Linked DNA regions of Homo sapiens: region 1 is linked to region 2. The links are contacts of gene promoters, found by promoter capture Hi-C in human tissues and cell types (Jung and others, 2019). All regions are on one chromosome and are shown on one strand. Each heading gives the region's core, a stretch centred on a gene start or on the middle of the fragment in contact. The rest is flanking DNA. Distances are from core to core; before and after follow the strand shown. Region 1 overlaps SLC4A5 (solute carrier family 4 member 5). Region 2 holds the start of MTHFD2 (methylenetetrahydrofolate dehydrogenase (NADP+ dependent) 2, methenyltetrahydrofolate cyclohydrolase).

Evidence for each region. The method cuts DNA at HindIII sites, captures the fragments that hold promoters and counts their contacts. A contact is called where the count stands out against the background at its distance.
Region 1: a contact is called between a fragment that was not itself captured here and the fragment with the promoter of MTHFD2 in region 2, in 2 of the 25 tissues and cell types used here (adrenal gland and mesenchymal stem cells).

Annotation. Positions count from the first base shown.
Region 1 is chr2:74,267,088-74,274,075 of GRCh38, forward strand. The region is part of intron 8 of SLC4A5 (solute carrier family 4 member 5); the gene reads right to left. Among named protein-coding and RNA genes, the nearest start is that of MTHFD2, 72 kb to the left of the region's middle. RefSeq lists an enhancer at 96-175. The HindIII fragment of the contact is 3,848 bases long and covers 3,694-6,988 here.
Region 2 is chr2:74,193,475-74,200,420 of GRCh38, forward strand. It overlaps MTHFD2 (methylenetetrahydrofolate dehydrogenase (NADP+ dependent) 2, methenyltetrahydrofolate cyclohydrolase), which reads left to right and starts at 5,141. Exons shown (of 8, transcript NM_006636.4): 1 at 5,141-5,268. The coding sequence starts at 5,168. RefSeq lists enhancers at 1-93, 4,803-5,361 and silencers at 5,070-5,209, 5,400-5,679, 5,810-5,899. The HindIII fragment of the contact is 7,235 bases long and covers 1,213-6,946 here.

The sequences.
Region 1 (6,988 bases), core at 4,368-6,867, 74 kb after region 2:
TGGACTTTTAAATTACTACAAATGAAATAACATTCTTCATTTTTTAATACTGGCAAAAGTTAAAAAGATTGACAACTTCCTGTGTCAGTGAAAACATGGGGAGGTGGCCTCTCATCTGCTGCAGGTGTAATGACACAGCCTTCCTGGTGTGGGCAGCCTGTTTCAACATTCAGTGTGCATGCCTTTTGACCCAGTGGTTCGATTTCTAGGAAACGATCACAGGAATATAATTACACTGCCACACCCTGTAATATGTATACAAGGACGCTCGATGAAGCTTTGTCTGTTAGGCCAAAGAACTGGAAACCACCAGGTTTTCAGTAGAAGCATGATTACATCAATTCTGTATGTCCATGTTGTGGAATATCCCCCAGAAATAAATAAAAAATATGTGGGTGAACTCACATACTGACAGGACGGACACTACCATCCCATTTTATAAAAAAGAAAAACACACTTGTGTGTGTGCACACATGTGTCTGGAGAAAGCAAAAGTTTTGGAGGGATCCATGTCAAATGGTTAACAATGATTACTTTGAGCAGAGGAGTAGGATTGTTGTTGGGGCGGGATTTAAGACTTTCACTTTATTGGGGCGAATTAGTGTAGCAAGAGTGCAGTCTGGTTAGGCTGGGTGAGGTGGCTCACGCCTGTGATTCCAGCACTTTGGGAGGCCCAGGTGGGTGGATCGCCTGTGCTCAGGAGTTTGAGACCAGCCTGGGCAACATGGTGAAACCCTGACTCTACCAAAAAACCCAAAAAATTAGCTGGGCATGGTGGCACACAGCTGTGGTCCCAGCTTCTTGGGAGGATCACTTGAGCCTGGAAGGCAGAGGTTGCAGTGAGCCGAGATGGCACCACTGCACTCCAGCCTGGGTAACAGAGTGAGAGTCCGTCTACATTTTTTTTTTTTTTAAAAAAGAGCACAGTCTATGAAGCAACACTATTAGGTTTTGAATAACAGCTCCATCATTTACTAGCTGAAAATCTCGAGTAAGTTACTTAATCTCTCATCACCTTTGATTTCTTCAGTAATAATAATAATGTACAGCAATTAGAGCAGTGCCTAGCACACAAGATACACTCTGTTAATGTTAGCTATTAAGTTAAAAATAAAGAATATTACTTTTGTAATTTTAGGAACAATAAAAAAAGAAGAAAGCAAAGTCATTCAAAGCTCCTCCAACCAGGAGGCATCATGCTGATGTCTTGATGGTTGATATTTTGGTAACTGCCATTCTAGATCTCCTCGTGCATGCATGCACATATGCCTGTGTTTGCATTAACTGTACATTAATGGCACCACAAGGACCTTAAGGGTATAGTATCTAATGGACATCCTTTCATCTCTATTAGTATTAACATCATTCTGAAGTCCTTCTAGTATTCCACTGTCTGAATGTACCATAATTGATAGGAACAGTTCTCAACTGGTAGACATTCAGATTATTTCTAATTATTCTTTATTATTAATTAAGGCTGGTTGGAACATCCTTGGTTCCTGCTCCACAATTTCTTTAGGATAAACTCTCAGAAGTGGAATTACTGTGTCTGCACATTTTTACATTTATAACAAGCATTACCAAACTGTTTTCCAGAAAGCTTATGTCAGTGCCCACTGCCACCAATGAGATCTTACATTTCCCTAAAGTCTCCCAGACTTTGGTATTTTCATTCTTTTTCACCTTTGTTCATTTGGTAGTTGAAAAATTATCTCACATTTGCACTCTTCTGATTACTAGTGAGATTGAACATCTTTTCCTTCATCAGATTTCCTCTTCACGTAACTGTATATTTTGCATTATCTATGTTTAACACCTTCATTCCATACATTTATTTGAGACAAGTTAACCAGGCACCTGGTGGGATCCTGGGGAATCAGATGGACACAGAATGGGGAGATCTAATTAGAGAAGGACTGGGAGGTGAAGACCTGAAACATGGGGGCTGGAGCCAGAGACCAGGCAGACAAGTTGTAGCTGACCTTTTTGTGGAGAAATCTGTTTGGGAAATATCATTTAAATTATGGCAGATCCAAGACTATGTGATATCGAAAGTAAGATGTTTCTAAAAGGTATATTAACATAAGAGTTTACAAGGAATAGACCAAAGGATAAGTTCAAAATTTTTTTTTTTTTGAGACGGAGTTTCACTCTCATCGCCCAGGCTGGAGTGCAATGGTGCAAGCTTGGCTCACTGCAACCTCTGCCTCCGTGGTTCAAGTGATCTCCTGTTTCAGCCTCCTGAGTAGCTGGGATTACAGGTGCCTGCCACCAGGCCCGGCTGTTTGTTTTTTGTTTGTTTGTTTGTTTGTTTGTTTGTTTTTTAGTAGAGACAGGGTTTCATTATGTTGGTCAGGCTGGTCTCAAATTCCTGACCTCAGGTGGTCCACCCACCTCCGCCTCTAAAAGTGCTGGGATTACAGGCGTGAGCCACCGCGCCCGGCCAGTCCAAATGTTTTAGTTGAGAGGATGCTCAACTTTTCTTCCTGAGGATCGACCTCCTATTCAGCTTGCCTTTTATTGTTTTTTTTTTCTCAAAAATAATACAAAAGATAAACTGAACTGTCACCCTGCTCCCAAAGACTCTTTTGCTACTCCATGGTCTTACCCACCCACCTAAAGGTGTGATGTGGCCCAGTGCATGGGGCCAGTTGAGTGGGTTGCTGTCTTCACTGTCTCACAAACATCCTAGGCCAGACAGTCTCAGGCAGCTCTCTCCCCTGACATCCCATTCTTCAGTCTTCTGCCCATACAAATGCAACTCCACCTGAAGGAGTGATAAGAGCAATGCTTCCTCTTTGAAACATCCTCTACTAACTCCAGATAGCAGATAGCAAAGACATGCAGTCCTCTCCACCTCTCAGGACTTCAACTATTTGTACTGTGTTAGGCATACACCAAACATTAACCCCATAGACACACAGACAAGGGCGATAACCCACATGAGAATAGCCTGCATAAACACTAAATTACTTGTCTCCAATTTTAAGCCAATGCCAGAACTAGACTCTGCTACCAGAATCCAGAAAATTTGATTTAAGAAATTCCGGAATATGAGACCATTTAACTAGGGACACCGCTCTAGTCCCCTCTATAACTATTTTGGGAATCCAGATGTTGAACCATTAAGCTTGCTACCTGGAACTTAATTTTGTGTTTTCAATGGCTACAGCTAGAAATTTAGCTCACTTTCACCTTGAATGGAAAAGGAAACATGGAGGACCAAAGATCCATAGCAATGGTTTTCAACCTTGGCTGTCCATTAGAATAACTTGGAGAGATTTATAAAAATACCAATGCCTGGGGCTGGGCGCGGTGGCTCATGCCTGTAATCCCAGCACTTTGGGAGGCAGAGGCAGGCGGATCACGAGGTCAGGAGATCGAGACCATCCTGGCTAACATGGTGAAACCCTGTCTCTACTAAAAATACAAAAAATTAGCCAGGCGTGGTGGCAGGCGCTTGTAGTCCCAGCTACTCAGGAGGCTGAGGCAGGAGAATGGCGTGAACCCGGGAGGCGGAGCTTGCAGTGAGCAGAGATCATGCCACTGCACTCCAACCTGGATGACAGAGCGAGACTCCGTCTCAAAACAAAACAAAACAAAACAAAAACCAATGCCTGGATGGTTACCCCACCAGGAGGGTGACCCTGCCATGGAAACTCCCGGGTTATCTGACTGCACCCTGTGGGTTCAGGAGCCCCTGCTCTGTAGGTACATAGAATGGTGTGACTTAGGGATAGTTCAACTTATATGGGGTCCCAACGCAGGCAAACGTAGCTCACATGGATCTGATTCTCATTATACAGCAGGACATGGCCTCTTTCCCTTAGAATGGCTCCAAGAACACTAGCTGAAAGGGTCTCCTTTCTAGCACAGTCATGCTATGCTTTAGTTTCTCTGATTTTATAACTGAAGTCCATTTACAGTACATATTCTACTACACCAGTGTGCCTCAAACTCTAATGTGCATGGGGATCTTGTCAAAATGCAGATCCTCATTGAGCAGGTCTGGAATGAGGTCAAAGATTCTACATTTCTAATAAGCTCCTAGGTGTGCTCATGCTGCTGGTCTGCAGATCACCTCTGAGATCATGTAGAATGTCCTCTTTCCTCTCTGTTTTCCACTGCCCAGCGAGAATGCCCCTTCCTCCACAAAGCCTCTGCCAGTTATTCTGCTTATTTCTCCTATAACACCCTAGGATGGTTCTCAACCTGAAGCACTTTAGAAACCACTGTTCTAGGACAGTGATTCTTAAGCTTGCTTGCATATAAGAATACCCTAGATGCCTTTAAAATCTTCATGTCTCAGTCATATCCTAGACCAGTTGACATCAGAATAAAAACGGGTGGGATCCAGGCAACTCTGTGCTCCAGACTATCCTAGGTAAAGTTTCTAACTTCTTAGGCTCAGAGCCTAAAATAATTAATTAATTCAGGCTCAGTGCCTAAATTAATAATTAATTGTAGCCAATCATGTTTTATGATTGTTTTGGTATATAACAAATGCCAAATATACATTAAGCTTTTTGAAGACAGGTGCCATTTCTTCCTCTCTGGTGTCCCCTTATGGTCTCCTGCCCAGATCAATTGCATTAAATGCTTGCTCCCTTCTGCTTGAGGGTAGCAAGACCTCACTGATCACTTTGGGTGAGATCTCGCTATGAGGAAATGACTGGGGAAAAAAAGCTTAAAACTCATTTTGTTTAAGTATATTTAAAAATACTCAGAAGCCGGGCATGGTGGCTCACACTTGTAATCCCAGCGCTCTGGGAGGCTGAGGTGGGAGGATTGCTTGAGACCTGCCTGAGAAACAAAGCAAGACTCCACTATACAAAAAATAAAATAATTAGCCAGGTGTGGTGGCATATGCCTGTAGTCCCAGCTACTCAGGAGGCTGAGGTAGGAGGATTAAGTCCAGGAGTTTGAGGCTGCAGTGAGCTGTGATCGCACCACTGCAATGAAGCTGAAGTGACAGAGAAAGACCCTATCTCTAAAAAGAAAGAAAGAGGCCTTATCTTTTAGAGACATAATGAAATATTTACAGATGGAATGATGTGGTGTCTGGGATTTGTGTCAACCTGACCTAGCATGTGTGTCTGTGTGTCTGGGGTAGTAGGTGGGGGACAGAGAAACAAGAATTGCTATGAGTTAGCTGTTAACTGTTGAAGCTGGGTGATGGGCAGGTGGGGGTTCATTCTGCTATATACTACTTTTGTATAAATTTGAATTTTCCATAATAAAATCCTTAAACATTCTCCAGAATGAATAAAGGAATGGCCTCTGTAAAAAGCCTCTGGTCAAAGCCAAGTTTAAAAACTTGCAAAAGCCTGATAATAAGGTTCATGTGTAATCCCAAACAACTCATTGCAAAGTGAACTGTGTACCATGGTTGGCTTCAAAAAGTGGGGTATTAGAGTTGGGGAAGCAGGTCAAGTGGAAAGAAAATCTCCACGTTCTCCTTCATTATCCAGCAAAGCTTTAACTTTTAGGGATTTTGCCCAAGCTTGGGTGTAGACCCCCAACTCTGCATGCCAGGGTGGGCACCAGGTGCCCCGCTCCTGACTGGAATGTAGCTAAAAGGAACCTTGAAATGTCACTTGTCACAGAAAGCAGCTCTCTGTCACACAAAGCAGGGCCAGAACTGAGGCCTTTTCTGTGCCTAGTAACTCGGTCAGAGATATAATTAGAGGACATTGCTGTTCAATTAATAACAAGAGCAGGAGAAAGCATCATGGCGCTAGCTACCAGGTACAGTCAAGGCTTCCAATGCTCAAACCACAGGATGGGAGAAGAGGAGGTTCTCCTTCAAGGAGGATCTGGAAAGGGCTGAAAACCAAGAGACCTCTATTCTAGTTGTCTCCTCAGATGGAAACTTCGTAACTCCCACTGATCCTGCTGGGCTAGAGTAAGTATCAGCAGTTTTCAATGGCTGCATTAGGATCATCTGGGAGCTTTTTACAAATTCTAAAACCCAGGCTGAATCTCAGACTAATTACATCAGAATCTCAGGGGACTGACAATCAGACATCAATATTTTTTAAAAGGAAGACACAGATCCTTGAGATGATAAAACAACAGGCTGCCCATTATGTGTAGTTAGATAAGAGTAAAATCTGGAGAATATACATAAACATTGTGATTGAAGAGAAGCTTCTATCTATACTATTTTGAATATCATTATAATTAAATAGTGTCTTGGTTAGTTTGTTTGCAAAATCCCCCCTAGGACATTCTAATTTAAAAAATGTAATCTCCCAATGTATGTAACCTTTAATGCTAAGGCTATGTTGCCTCCAAACATTTGTTTTAAGAATTACATTTGTGTGAATTTGTTTCTTTCATGAAGTTTACTCAGCTAAAATTTGTAAAGTATATATCCCTGTGGTCACTCTATCTATGTGGCCTCACCAACTTTATTCTGTAACTCTCCCACCCCGCCCCATTACCCAAAAGCTTGACTTCTGTGTATTAGTTACAAAGCATCAAGACATGTTTGTGCTTTCTGCCTAAGGCCTGTAATACATTTTGTAACTCCAACAAATTCATTTCTTAAAAGTAAGAAATGTAAGTTTTCCTTCAATATCCAGCAAAGTTTTTTAACTTCATATGAGTCATATCAGGATACTGAATTTCCCAACAGATACTGAAGACCAGTATTAATTCACTTAGAAGCCCGTTAAGAATTTTCCTAGAGATGTCTGAGGAATCATCAGATACTCCCCTGGTTCAGTCTTTGACAGAGGCACTAAAAAATGATCTGTGGAAGGAAGATTTTTCAAAAGGGGAACACCTGAGGCCGGGCCTGGTGGCTCACGCCTATAATCCCAGCACTTTGGGAGGCCAAGGCAGGCAGATCCCTTGAGGTCAGGAGTTTTGAGACCAGCCTGGCCAACATGGCAAAACCCTGTCTGTACTAAAAATACAAAGATTAGCCAGGCGTGGTTGTGCATGCCTGTAATCCCAGCTACTCCCAGCCAAGCACTATGCT
Region 2 (6,946 bases), core at 3,891-6,390:
TTTTTATTTTTGGGACAGAATCTCGTTCTGTTGTCAGACTGGAGTGCAGTGGCATGATCTCGGCTCACTACAGCCTCTGCCTCCTGGGTTTAAGCGATTCTTCTGCCTCAGCCTCCTGAGTAGCTGGGACTACAGGCATGTGCCACCATGCCCAGATAATTTTTGTATTTTTAGTAGACATAGGGTTTCACCATGTTGGCCAGGATTGTCTCGATCTCTTGACCTCATGATCCGCCCGCCTCTGCCTCCTAAAGTGCTGGGATTACAGGCGTGAGCCCCTGTGCCCGGCCGAGACAGAATCTCTGTCACCCACACTGGAGTGCAGTAATCCAATCATAGCTCACTGCTGCCTCAACCTCCGGGGTCAAGTGATCCTTCCATCTCAGCCTCCCGAATAGCTGGGACCACAGGTGTGCACCACAACGCCTGGCTAAGTTTTTTATTTTTTTGTAGAGATGGGGTCTCACGATGTTGCCCAGGCTGGTCTTGAACTCCTGGGCTCAAGCAATTCTCCCACCTCAGCCTCTCAAAGCACTGGGATTACAGGCATGAGCCACCCTGTTAGACTATTTAGCCTGTTAGACTATTTAGCCTAGTCTAAATAAATGATATTTTAAGAGAGTGGGAGCGTAGAAGCAGGTCCTTTTGTGAAGCATATTAAAAATATATAATAATGTTCACACATGGGTTTCGTAACTCCCCAGTGGGCTCATCTTGCCTGCTGCCTAGATACAGCCCATTTATCAAGACACAGGAATTATAATACAGAGAGCGTTTAATACACAGAGAGCTGGCTAAACCGAAGACTGGAATTTTTTTTTTTTTTTTTGAGACAGAGTCTTGCTCTGTCACCCAGGCTGAAGCGCAGTGGCTCACTGTGACCTCCCGCCTCCCGGGTTCAAGCAATTCTCCTGTCTCAGCCTCCTGAGTAGTTGGGATTACAGGTGCATGCCACCATGCCTGGCTAATTTTTTTTTTTTTTTTTTTTTTTTTGTATTTTTAGTAGAGACGGGGTTTCACCATGTTGGCCGGGCTGGTATCAAACTCCTGACCTTGTGATCCACCCACCTCGGCCTCCCAAAGTGCTGGGATTACAGGCATGAGCCACCGCGCCAGGCCAGAGTTTTATTATTACTCAAATCAGCCTCCCAGAAAGTTTGGGTGTTTCAAGGATAGTTTTGTCCATGCCCAGGAATGACCAAGGGAAGTTTGGAAGTTAAAGGCAAGATGAAGTTGGTTAGATCAGATCATTAATGAAAGTGGTCTAACTAAATGTTAGATCGCTGTTAACAATGTTTGCAAAGGCGGTTTCAATTCATTCCTGAAAGTTCACATTTTGGGAAAAGAAAATTTCCCAAATTTTGCAGAGGGATGGAGGGTTAGTTTCCTTAAAAGATGGGAAATGTGTATTTCCTTTCCCTCTTCAATCACTGTTGCTAGGTTCAAGTAACTCTAAGGTGCCTCCTCCCCACAGCGTACTGGGGACAGGATCTGCAAATTATCACACCCAGTCTTATCACCAGTTATATAACCTGTAGGCCATTCTCTGACCTCTAAACCTTCCATATCCATTGTTTTGTGGGCTCTCAGCATCACATTCTTTTTCTTAGTCTCTTATTCATTGTATGCCTGCCTCACTCCATGCCCCATAAGGGCATAAATATTACTGATCTTTTTAGCCTGGCCAACATGGGGAAACCCCATCTTTACTAAAAATACAAAAATTAGCCAGGCATAGTGGCACATGCCTGTAATCCCAGCTACTTGGTAGGCTGAGGCACGAGAATCACTTGAACCCAGGATGCGGAGGTTGCAGTGAGCCAAGATCATGCCATTGCATTCCAGCCTGGGTGACACAGTGAGACTCTATCTCAAAAAAAAAAAAAAAAAGAAAAAGAAAAGAAGAGAAAAAAAAATTACTGGTCTTTTAAAAAATTTTTGACATTATTTCAGACATACAGAAAGGTTACAGGAAAAGTTCAAAGAATACTTGTATACTCTTCCCCACTTGTTAATATTTTACATTTGCCACTTGTTTTATGGGTTTTTTTTTTATGTATATACATTGTTATGGACTGAATTGTATCCTCTCCAAAATTCAGTGTTGACACTCTGACCTTGGAATGTGACTCTATTTGGAAATAAGGCCTTTAAAACAATGATTAAAATGGTTAAAATGGGGCTGTTAGGGTAGGCTCTAAATTAATCTGATTGGTTTCTTTATAAGAGGAGATTAAGACATTCGGAGAGGCCGGGCATGGTGGCTCATGCTTATAATCCCAGCACTTTGGGAGGCCAAGACAGGTGAATTCCTTGAGCCCAAGAGTTCAAGGCTTACTTGGGCAACATGGCGAAGCCCGGTCTGTACTAAAAATACAAAAAATTAGGCTGATGTGGTGGCGCATGACTACAGTACCAGCTGCTGGGGAGGCTGAGGTGGAAGGATCACCTGAATCCAGGAGGTTGAGGCTGTAGTGAGCTGAAGGCGCACCATTGCACTCCAGCCTGGGCGACGAGAGTGAGACCATGTCTCAAAACAACAACAAAAAAAGTAAAATAATAAAAGATATTCAGAGAGAGACGTCAGGGTTGCATGTGCACACACAGAAAAGGCCATAACACAGCAGGCATGCAGCCCTCTGTAAGCCAAGGACTGCAAGCCTCAGGAGAAACCAATCCTGCCAACACCTTGACCTTCGCTTCTAGCCCCCAGAACTGTTAGAAAATACATTTCTTTCTTTTTTTTTTTTTTTTAGATCGAGTCTCACTGTTGCCCAGGCTAAAGTGCAGTGGTGCGATCTCGGCTCACTGCAACGTCGGCCTCCTGGATTCTAGCAATTCTCCTGCCTCAGTCTCTCAAGTAGCTGGGATTACAGGCATGTGAAACCATGCCTGGCTAATTTTTATATTTTTAGTAGAGACAGGGTTTCACCATGTTGGCCAGGGTGGTCTCAAAATCCTGATCTGAGGTGATCCGCCTGCCTCAGCCTCCCAAAGTGCTGGGATTACAGGCGTGAGCCACTGCACTCAGCCCATTTCTGTTGTTTAAATGACTCAGTCTGTGTTATTTTGTTATGGCAGCCCTAGCCAACTTATACATACAAAGCATTATTTTTTTCTGAACTATTCAAAAGTAAGTTACAGACATGGTCCTTTAGTACTAGAAGCAAGTGCAATATATTCTCTTACATTACTGCATGCGATTAGCTAACACTGATAAAATGCTATTAGCTAGTTGCAGACTTTATTCATATTTTGCCAATTGTCCTATAATGTCATCTATAGCAAAAGAGAGAAAAAAAGAAGCAAGAAAGAGAAAAAAAGAAAGACAAAAAGTTTTGGGTCCAGAATCCAATCCAGAATCAAACAGCATTTAGCTGTCATGCCTAGGCTCCTTTAATGGAGAACAGTTTCTCATTCTTTGTCTTTCATGGCCTTGGAGCTGTCAAGAGTACAAGCAATTTATCTTGTAGAATATCTCTCACTTTGGGCTTGTCTGATATTTCCTTGTGAATAGATTAAGATCTACTAGTGTGTTCCAAAGCTTTACAACTGTTTTTTTTCCTGGACAGTTTTAACATTCTAGGTCTGTGATCTTTCTTCTCAATGTGAAATGAGGAATCTGTAACCGTTTTTAGGAGACTCATTGGTTTAGGAAAATCACCTTATTAAATTTACAGACTTGTTAAGAGCTACGAAGTGATGTGTCTCCTCAATGGATCCTATCAGAAGGCATATATGTGTGTTCCCTTACTGGGTGGTGCTAACTTTGATCACGTGGTTGAAGCAGTAACTGTCATGTTTCTTCACTGTAAATTTACCATTTTCCTTTCCTTCCTGGAGGCTAGAAGTAAAGGTCAAGGTGTTGACAGGATTGGTTTCCCCTGTTCTTTGTTTGTTTGTTTTGTTTTTTGAGACAGAGTCTTTTTGTTGCCCAGGCTGAAGTGCAGTGGCACAGTCTCGGCTCCCTGCAACCTCTGCCTCCCAGATTCAAGCGATTCTCATGCCTCAGTCTCCCCAGTAGCTGGGATTACAGCGTCCGCCACGATGCTCAGATAATTTTTTGTGTTTTTAGTAGAGACGGGGGTTTCAACACATTGGCCAGGCTGGTCTCGAACTCCTGGCCTCAGGTGATCCGTCCGCCTTGGCCTCCCAAAGAGCTGGGGATTACAGAAGTGAGCCACCGCGCCCTGCCCTCCTTAAGTTTCCTTGCGGGAGAGATACTTTGAGACTATGCAAAAAGTTTGCGGGAAAAAATACAGGAAGCCCAGTTGAATCTGAATTCCAGATAAGCCATAAATAAAGTATAAATATGACCTCCCAAAGTGTTTATCTAAAATTCTGATTTGATTGGGCATCTTGTGTTTTTATTTGCTAGATCTGGCAACCCTATATGTAAATATCTTGCTCCTCATCCAACTTTCACCCAGTTGTTTTGACATCTATTGCTGCTTCTGAATCAGGGTTGCACATGCAACCCTGACGTCTGTCTCTGAATATCTTTTATGATTTTACTTTTTTTGTTGTTGTTTTGAGATATGGTCTCACTCTCGTCGCCCAGGCTGGAGTGCAGTGGCGCGCCTTCAGCTCACTGCAGCCTCAACCTCCTGAACTCAGGTGATCCTTCCACCTCAGCCTCCCCAGTAGCTGGTACTGTAGTCACGCGCCACCATGTACTGATTTTGGAAAATGGTGATTTTCTAACTCCATCATTCCTTTTACTTCTGTTCGTTGGCATTCTATCAGCTTGTCTTTTCATCCACCCTTTACAGTGCTTGGCACACAGTAGGCGCTCATATAATTGTTCAACGAATGAATGAATGAACTTTTCTCTTGTGTTGTCCGGCCTTCGGTGACACTAGCGGCGTCAGGCAGGAGTTTGACTTCCTCAGCCTATCATGGCACGTTGCCGAGGCTTCAGCGCCTTACAGGACCTCGCTCCAGGCTCTTCTGGCTCCAATCAAAAGCAGGGCTCTTTCGGACTTCGCTTACGTTTAATAAAGAAAACCGGTTGGCCCCTTCGGCTCCACCTGGCTCAACAGACAGCCAGTGGCATGCGGCAGGGACCAATGGGTGGCGGAGGGAGGCGGGGCCTGCCACGAGGCCGCAGTATAACCGCGTGGCCCGCGCGCGCGCTTCCCTCCCGGCGCAGTCACCGGCGCGGTCTATGGCTGCGACTTCTCTAATGTCTGCTTTGGCTGCCCGGCTGCTGCAGCCCGCGCACAGCTGCTCCCTTCGCCTTCGCCCTTTCCACCTCGCGGCAGTTCGGTAAGAGGGTCACAGAGCTCGGTCAGCGCGGAAAGCTGAGGGGAACGGAGGGCGAGGGGCACGCCGGGCCCCCGAGGGACACCGAGGGAAGTCCTTCCCGAACATCTCCGCCCCGGCGGTGGTGGCCGCTGAGGGGTGTGGCGGGGCGACGTGGCACCGAGCGCCGCCGCAGCTCTCGACTGGGGCGCTTCCTCGGCGCGGAGGGCTGGTACCCGAAGCCCGCCTTTCGGAGGGAGCCGCTCTCCTGCGACTCGGGGCGTCGCCGGGGCCCGTGGCCAGTCGGCGGGCGGGACGGGGGTGGCGTGCGGAACGCGAAGGCATCAGTTTACGCGGAGCCTTCCGACAGCGCCGGCCGCCTCTGGCTGGGATGCTGAGAGTCGTCTGGGGGAGAACAGGCGAGGGTTCCAAAAGAGCAGCCCTCGGCGAGTTGTCCTTGCGGGGACCCTAGCGGCGGAGGGCGCTGCTGCAGCTGATGAAATCGCGGAGCCGACTTGCTCGGGGTCCCCGCGCCGCCCTCCTCCCTCCGCCGGTGGGAGTGGCCCGCGCTGCCTCCGCTCTGCCAGGAACATGAACGGACTCTGGGCACCCTAGCTTTGGCTGCAGCCCACCAGAGCCTGTCAGTGCCGGGCTGCGTACATAGAGGTGGCAAACATCCGGGAGGCTCCCAGGGCCTTAGGGAAAGGGGGAATGGAGAGTGACAAGTACCCATATTTCAGCGGTACTTGCAGAATTTCAGTTTTACAAGATGAAGAGTTCTGAAGATGGATGGTGGTGATGGTTGCACAACATATGAACGTATTTAATACCACTGAACTGCACTTAAAAATGGTTAAGATGGGCCGGGCGTGGTGACACGCGCCGAGGCTGAGGCACGAGAATCGCTTGAGCCCAGGAGTTCGAGGCTGCAGTGAGCCGTGATTGCACCACTGCCCTCCAGTCTGGGCGACAGAGCGAGACCCTGTCTCAAAAAAAAAAAAAAAAAAAAAAGTTGATAAGGTTTATGTTATGTGAATTTTACCACAATAACAAAATTGGGAAAAATATACAGGGGAGGAGGAAAGGAAAAGCTCTGTTTGCATTTTTGGGTTTCCTTGGGAAGGTGATTTGGTCGGTCATTAGAGCGCTGGCATTGTTGGCATTGTTAGAGCCCTGCACCTTACAACATCAGCCCCTTCTTTTTTTCATCTAACGTTCACTGTGTACCAGACACTATGCCAAGCTGTGCGAATTCAAAGATGAGAAAAACTGTTCTTAATGGAGCTCATGTTCCTGACAAGGGGCAGAACACGCGTGTAATTTCCAGTCAGTGCGGAAATGCTGTTAGAAATATTTCAAAGGCGCTGCTTGTTGGAGCAATGAGTTCTTGAAGGAAAACGTGGGAGGGGACTTTCAGGGTTTTCCCTGGTCTGACTCTTGACCTCCCCCATGTTTCGTTACTGTGTGTTTTCTCCCCTTCTCCCTCTTCCTGAGTGCTGGCCTCATGTGACTGTGGACCAGACCTTTCCTAGGCTTCCATGGTCCAAAAGAGATTTATAAAGATGCTCTCATTCATTACCTAAAGAACTGGGCCAGTTTGTCTACACTCTCCAATAACAAATGCTCTTTTCACTACCTTTCTGAAAGAACAAGTAAGCTTCATCCACATCTCTGAAAGCAATCCATATTATCTGTACTGCAC